Linked DNA regions of Homo sapiens: region 2 is linked to region 1. Evidence: promoter capture Hi-C in 16 types of primary human blood cells and fetal thymus (Javierre and others, 2016). All regions are on one chromosome and are shown on one strand. Each heading gives the region's core, a stretch centred on a gene start or on the middle of the fragment in contact. The rest is flanking DNA. Distances are from core to core; before and after follow the strand shown.

Region 1 (3,726 bases), core at 1,177-3,676:
GGTCAAGAGATCGTGACCATCCTGGCCAACATGGTGAAACTCCCTCTCAACTAAAAATACAAAAATTAGCTGGTCATGGTGGTGCACGCCTGTAGTCCGAGCTACTCAAGAGGCTGAGGCAGGAGAATCGGGCCAGGGGCAAATTCCTTTTTTTTTTTTTTTTTTGAGACAGAGTCTCGCTTCGCCCAGGCTGGAGTGCAGTGACAGGATCTCGGCTCGCTGCAAGCTCCGCCTCCTGGGTTCACACCATTCTCCTGCTTCAGCCTGGGACTCAGTAGTGGGACTAGCGGCGCCTGCCACCACGCCCGGCTAATTTTTTTTGTATTTTTAGTAGAGACGGGGTTTCACCGTGTTAGCCACGATGGTCTCAATCTCCTGACCTCGTGATCCGCCCGCCTCAGCCTCCCAAAGTGCTGGGATTACAGGCTCGAGCCACCGCGCCCGGCCAGCCACGAGCAAATTCTTATGCATAGGTGAGGTTAAGCCACAGCAGTGGCTTAAGCACAACTGTAACACAGCTTTCCCCATTTAAAGTCACACTTGATTCTAGGTCCAGCTTGGTGGCGGGAGGGGCAGGAAGACAGTCTGTGAACTGCTTTCCTATATGAACACAATCCACTTTTTCTGTTAAGAAAGAGTAGAAGCAGCAAAAACCCATTGGTACTAACTACTACCATGGCTCTACTCAAATCTGTGCTCCCTAAAAAGTCAGTTATTACCGATAGCTCAAATACTCAAGTGCCCAACCTTCTGCCCATTCCCCCCCAACTGTTCCTTGAGCAGTATGAAAATTCGGGAAAATGAATGGAAAGAAGCTTCTATACACCGCAGCAGGCCATAACTGCCAAATACAGATAATGGAATCCCCACTATCAATCAAGAATCAATCCACGTTCTCACCCTCAAGGATTGTTCCCGATAGCAGTAGGAGCTATGAGCAAGGAATCTCTGTATTCTACTTTATACTCCCCCCAAAATAAGTTTTCAAACCGTGACCACATGTGAAGCAATAATTAACCTAACAAATTTTGAGAGACTCAGGGTTTTTTTTTTTTTGAGACAGAGTTTCACTCTTATTGCCCAGGCTGGAATGCAATGGTACGATCTCCGCTCACCGCAACCTCCACCTCCCGGGTTCAAGCGATTCTCCTGCCTCAGCCTCCCGCGAGTAGCTGGGATTACAGACATGCGCCACCATGCCCGGCGAATTTTCTATTTTTAATAGACGCGGGGTTTCTCCATGTCACTCAGGCTGGTCTCGAACCCCTGACCTCAAGTGATCCGCCCCCCCTCGGCCTCCCAAAGTGCTGGGATTACAGACGTGAGCCACCGCGCCCGGCCTCTGGGCTGATCCTGCCAGTTTTGTAAATGCAGCAGAAACAATCTCCTCATACTTCCAATTAGAGAAGCACACTGGACACAATTTGCGTTTGAGAAACCATCACGCAGAGTGAGTGAATTTCCAAATTACCAATGGAGAATACCCAAATCTTTTCATGGGTACAGGGGGCAGTACTGACTTGTTTCTCCTGGGAGCGCTCTTCCGAGGATATTTGGGCTGTCTCCGGAGTCGCAGTGTCTTCGGCCGCCGGAAGGTGGGTGACGTGCGGATCTTCTTCTTTTTGTGGCTGTGGACACCTTTCAACACTGCCTTCTTGGCCTTTAAAGCCTTCGCTTTGGCTTCAGCTTTAGGAGGGGCAGGAGCTGGGAGAAAAGGAAAGAAAACGTGGGTGCGGGATTTAGAAATCGGTCACTTCCGGCCCCAAGAACTGCAGTGGGCCACCCTGGCCACAGGTGCATCAGTGGTTCCTTTGAAGACATCACAAGTGTCAGGAGATTAAAACTTTTCCATCATATGCACGATACCAGAGGCGAAAGCGACCAACTCTAAGTAACTCCAGGGATACGACTATGAAACAAAGTAGCACTGAATGAACGCTTGATACTTTCCAGAAAATGTCCTACGAATTTTACACATACCCCATCGCAAAACCACGCTGCGGAGAGAGGGGCGGGTAATGTAGCCCGGTTGAACATGAACCAGAAGGAAAATGGTTAAAGCTGAGGGCACTAATTCCTTACAGGCCCGGGGACATGGAGCTCCAACCAGTGGATGCATGTAGCTTCCCAGAACCGAATGTCTGGCCCTCCCTGGCGGATGATGCCTGCCGCGTTGCCCCCCCCCAACTCCCTCTACCGGAACTCAGCCCACGAGGCTGGGCCCACGCGGCCCACGTATACTGCAGCGTGTCCGAAACGCAGGGAGCAGCCCCGGAGCAGAGCCCTCAGGGCTTAGCCCAGCAGCCGTGTTCCCAATTCGTTCGCTCTGCGGCGCGGCAATCCCCGGTAAACCAGCTGCGGCCCCATCACCAACACACACCTTCCTTCTTCGCTTTCGGCGCCATCTTGTGAAAAGGGTCTCCAATGCTCGTTCCCACGGGCTTATAGCGCCAAAGAGCACTAAAGACTCGCGATGCTTTGTACTTAGAGCTGATTGGGTAATTTGCAGAGCGGCGCCCTCTGGGAACGGTAGTTAGGTTTAATTTCTTTTTCGTGCGTGAACAAACATGCGCCACTCCTCCCCTCAAAGGCACTAAAGCTTCATGGGGGTTGTAGTTTTTTGTTTTTTGTTTTTTGTTTTTTTTTTGAGCGCTCTGTCGCCCAGGCTGGAGTGCAGTGGCGCGATCTCGGCTCACTGTAAGCTCCGCCTCCCGGGTTTACGCCATTCTCCTGCCTCAGCCACCAGAGTAGCTGGGACTACAGGCGCGTGCCACCATGGGGATTGTAGTTTTTTGAAGACACGCGTTTATTTGCTCAGGCCAGCGGACGGCGTAGCCGGCTGGCGCTCGGGTCTGGTCCCGGGAGCTTCCTATCTTGAGCAACTGCCAGTCTCAGGGAAGAGGATTGCCATGCCAGGAGGCAGGAACGCTGCCAAGAGGAAAGAACACATTTGGATTGACTCGGGAGTTAGATACAGCTAAGTTCTAGAGTGCTGGAGCAGGATTTGCTCGGTCGAACTGAGGTCCAGAGAGGAATGTGGTTTATCAATAACACAGTGATTTGGTGGCAGAAAAAAATCAAGTCAGGGCCGGGCGCGGTGACTCACGCCTGTAATCCCAGCACTTTGTGAGGCCGAGGTGGACGAATTGCTTCGAGCCCAGGAGTTCGAGACCACCCTGGGCAACACGGCGAAACCCTGTCTCTACAAAAGAATACAAAAATTAGCCGGGCGTGGTGGTGCGTGCCTGTAGTCCCAGTTCCTTGGGAGGCTGAGGTGGGAGGATCGCTTCAGCCCTGGAGGTCGAGGCTGCAATGAGCCATTCCAGCCTGGGTGGCAGAGTGAGACCCTGTCTCAAAATAAATAAATAAATAAATAAATAAATAATCGAGTCACGAGGGGGAAGTGTCAGAGGAAGTACAAGGCGGCCACACCTGCCCCTCTTTACCTGCGACACTGATACTGTCAAGTTTTACTGCGTTTCCTGATAATGCATTTGAAGTTCTATGAAAATTCCACACATTTCTCCAAGATTCGCTAGTTTTTCCGGTTAGTAACTTCACTCACAATCCCCTGCCCTAAACTAGTCTTCCCTTCCGTGTCCTGGTCATCTTTACATCCTCAAATTCAGCTCCAGACACAGAGAAAGGTTTCTTAACACTCAGGTTCGCTTCTCCTAAGGTGTGTGCCTAACCCATCCCCACTTGATCCTTTCTTCTTCCCTCTCC
Region 2 (3,540 bases), core at 237-2,736, 99 kb before region 1:
AAAATTAGCTGGGCGTGGTGGCAGGCGCCTGTAATTCCCGCTACTCGGGAGGCCAAGGCACGAGAATTGCTTGAACCCAGGAGGCAGAGGTTGCAGTTATCCGAGATCTTGCCACTGCACTCCAGCCTGGGTGACAGAGCGAGACTTCGCCTCAAAAAAAAAAAAAAAGTTTTACCATTTTTGCTTTTTGGTTCAGATGAGGAATGAATTCCACCTTATGGTACTTGCATTGCTGAATGTTTAAAGGCCTGATGGGAGTGACTTATTGTGTCTATATTTATAGCATCACAGCCAATCAATAGAAACACTCACACACAAAAGACACTGAAAAAACATTTTAACTTGCTATAGGTAACACCTTAAAGACATTTTAATGCAGGATTAGGTGATTGTTGCAGTTAGGCTTTGAAGAGTGACATGGTACCATTTTAGACAAAACTAACACTCCTTGTTCCATACCAGAGTCTAAATATAGAATCAGTGGCATCATTACCTGTAATGTACTTAGGAACTACATTGAAATTTGAATCTGTTGAACTAAATTTTTCTCAGCCTTTTAAGTGACATTAACAATAGAGGAAAATTGGGATGTTGTCTAAAAGCCAAAAAGGGAAAACTGAAATGGTTATGGGATAGTCTGCTGACGTGCTGGGAACTTTACCCTGACACCTCACCTGGGATCGTATATATTGTTTTTAGTATAGGGACCTGTGTGTTGCTAATTTTAGAACAAAGTAACATGAAGTTTTTTTAGCTTTATGCAGGTTGGACTGGAATCTTTTTTTCTGGAATTTGAGTTCTTTCACAATCCATTTACCTTTTTGTATCAAGGACAAGTGAAAGGCTTAGGTTTCTTTTCCTCTTTGATGGGAAGACTGTACTTGCTTTTGCTGGACTCAGGCATTATCTGCTTTTGCATTTGCATTTGGTGACTGCTAAAAGGGTCCTTGAATGACATGCTTTCACAGCAAAGACAGTTGAGTAATTTTATTTTCTTAGAGACGTTTTATTTCTGTGGTTGTAGTAAGACTCCCTGTTATTTGCTTTCATCATCAGCTTTGTTCATTCTAGGCTTAGGGATTGGCTTCAACTGTTTTACATTCATAGGCAAAGGTTCATTTTATATTCATATTTTAGTTCTCTTGGATTTAATTTGTAGCTTATATGTATCCATTATATTGAATAGTTTCCTTCCTAGATTAGGTATTTCATAAAACTTCTAAATATTTTTAGGAATGTATTACTTATGCTTGACATCTTTATCATTATTTTTTTCATTCAAAATAGCCCAAGTTTCTCTGGAAGCTTGCAGTTGGCAGTACTATCAAGACAAAATGCCTTTAGGACTGTATGGAGAAGGCACTTTCCACCACTACCTAACAAAATGGAATATATATATAATTTTTGACTTTATGTATTTCTTCTGTGATTTACTATCTCATATTCTTTGAATATTTTCCCCTTTGGTTATTTGTCTTCCTCTTATTTAGTTATAAGAGTTCTTTGTATATTGTGGCATTCAACTCTTTTTTATGTGATGTTAGTATTCCTTAAGGCTATGAATAAGAAGTGAGAAGGGAGGCTATTGCATTGAATGCTAATCCCAGATGGTGTTTGGTTAAATTGTTTTATTGTTTGCCTTGATTATTTGAGCAATGGTAAGCTTCTTTTGTCTCTTCCTTTCCAAAGATGCATAGAAAAGCTCCTTCTGTCTGAAGTAAAGTGTTGGCTCTGTGTTGGTTATAATTTGCTTTTTCTGGCTTGCACAGCCTTCTTTTTGTTTTCTGTCTTCTGACAGATTATAGGATTGTGGGGAAACAGCGTCCAGGGCTTTTTCAGGAACCGTGCCATTTTATCTACAGGAGAAGCCATTGGCTTTGGCACTAGAAGGGAATTGGCTGTGCATTTAAAGATGCCAAATCATGCTCGATTCACAAGTTTGCTGTCTCATTTTGTCTATGTGTGTGAAACTTTTTCAGGATTTTGGCTTTTTACTTTTTCTACCATGTGCTACCCCATCAGTATGAAAAATTAACAACTTGCCCCTTCTTTCCAGCTCTCTACTCCCAGAACATACAACCCAAACATCCTAAACCATAAATGATGGAGCAGTCATTTTGAAGATTAGGGAAAAATATACCATACAAGTGTTTCCCTTTGGCACCCTTGTCGTGACTTTGAGCTTTAATTCTGGTTTATCAGTCATTCCTATAGAGTCTTGTTATTTTTATTTTTATTTTTATTTTTTATTTTTATTCTTTTTTTTTTTTGAGACGGACTCTCGCTCTGTCGCCCTGGAGACAGGCTGGAGTGCAGTGGCGCGATCTCGGCTGACTGCAAGCTCCGCCTCCCAGGTTCACGCCATTCTCCTGCCTCAGCCTCCCAAGTAGCTGGGACTGCAGGTGCCCACCACCACGCCCAGCTAATTTTTTGTATTTTTAGCAGAGACAGGGTTTCACCGTGTTAGCCCAGATGGTCTCGATCTCCTGACCTCGTGATCCGCCCACCTCGGCCTCCCAAAGTGCTGGGATTACAGGCGTGAGCCACCGCGCCTGGCCTATTTTTATTTTTTTAAAGGCAGGGTCTTGCTCTGTCACTGAGGCTTGGAGTGCTGTGGCACGATCATAGCTCACTATAACCTTGAACTCTTACTCCTGGGCTCAAATGATCCTCCCACCTCAGCCTCCCAAGTAGCTAGAAGTATAAACCACCCCCTACACCCCACCTTCATGCCTTTTAAACTGCATGCAATAGATTTTGAAGCCTAACCAACTAGTTATTTTAGCAAATCTTCTTTACCAGATAATGCTTCTACTTTCATAGATAGAAGTTTAAAGATACCATCTAGGTATAGGTTATTTCCATTTAGATTAAGGCCAGAAATGTTGTTATTAGGAGAAAAAGCCAATTTGGATAGGCTGGTTTGTCTAGTGTGAATTATTATATATAGGCACATGTTTTTCCTCTCTCTTCTAGGAATGATTCTCCTTCTGTCCTGTCCCATATCCATAGTCTCCCAAAGTCATGGGTTTGATTCTCTACTCTGCATTCTCTGTTGTAGTTTGCCTATTATTATTATTATTTTGAGATGGAATTTCACTCTTGTTGCCCAAGCTGGAGTGCAATGGCACAATCTCAGCTCACTGCAACCTCTGCCTCCTGGGTTCAAGCGATTCTCCTGCCTCAGCCTCCCGAGTAGCTGGGATTATAGGCGACCACCATGGCCGGCTAATTTTTTGTATTTTTAGTAGAGACAGGGTTTCACCATGTTGGCCTGGCTGGTCTCGAACTCCTGACCTCAGGTAGTCCAGCCTCGGCCTCCCAAAGTGTTGGGATTACAGGCGTGAGCCTCTGTGCCTGGCCTTATTATGATTATTAATTTTTTTTTTTTTGAGACAGAGTCTCACTCTGTTGCCCAGGCTGGAGTTCAGTGGTGCGATATCGGCTCACTGCAATCTCTGTCTCCCAGGTTCAAGCGATTCTCCTATCTCATCCTCCTGAGTATCTGGGATTACAGGCATGTGCCACCACGCCCGGCTA

The links. Contacts are between HindIII fragments. The CHiCAGO score rates a contact against its expected background, and 5 or more counts as called.
Region 2: a contact is called between a fragment that was not itself captured here and the fragment with the promoter of RPL23A in region 1, in 3 of 17 cell types (naive B cells, megakaryocytes and naive CD4 T cells). The highest score is 5.8, in naive B cells.

The regions. Positions count from the first base shown.
Region 1 is chr17:28,718,685-28,722,410 of GRCh38, reverse strand. It overlaps RPL23A (ribosomal protein L23a), which reads right to left and starts at 2,426. Exons shown (of 5, transcript NM_000984.6): 1 at 2,381-2,426; 2 at 1,521-1,704. The coding sequence starts at 2,405. SNORD42B (small nucleolar RNA, C/D box 42B) reads right to left here and starts at 1,861; the gene lies at 1,795-1,861. RefSeq lists enhancers at 1,712-1,871, 2,212-2,431, 2,862-2,911, 2,568-3,169, 3,170-3,726. The HindIII fragment of the contact is 1,784 bases long and covers 818-2,601 here.
Region 2 is chr17:28,817,265-28,820,804 of GRCh38, reverse strand. All of the region lies in intron 1 of FAM222B (family with sequence similarity 222 member B), which reads left to right. Among named protein-coding and RNA genes, the nearest start is that of FAM222B, 24 kb to the left of the region's middle. The HindIII fragment of the contact is 358 bases long and covers 1,308-1,665 here.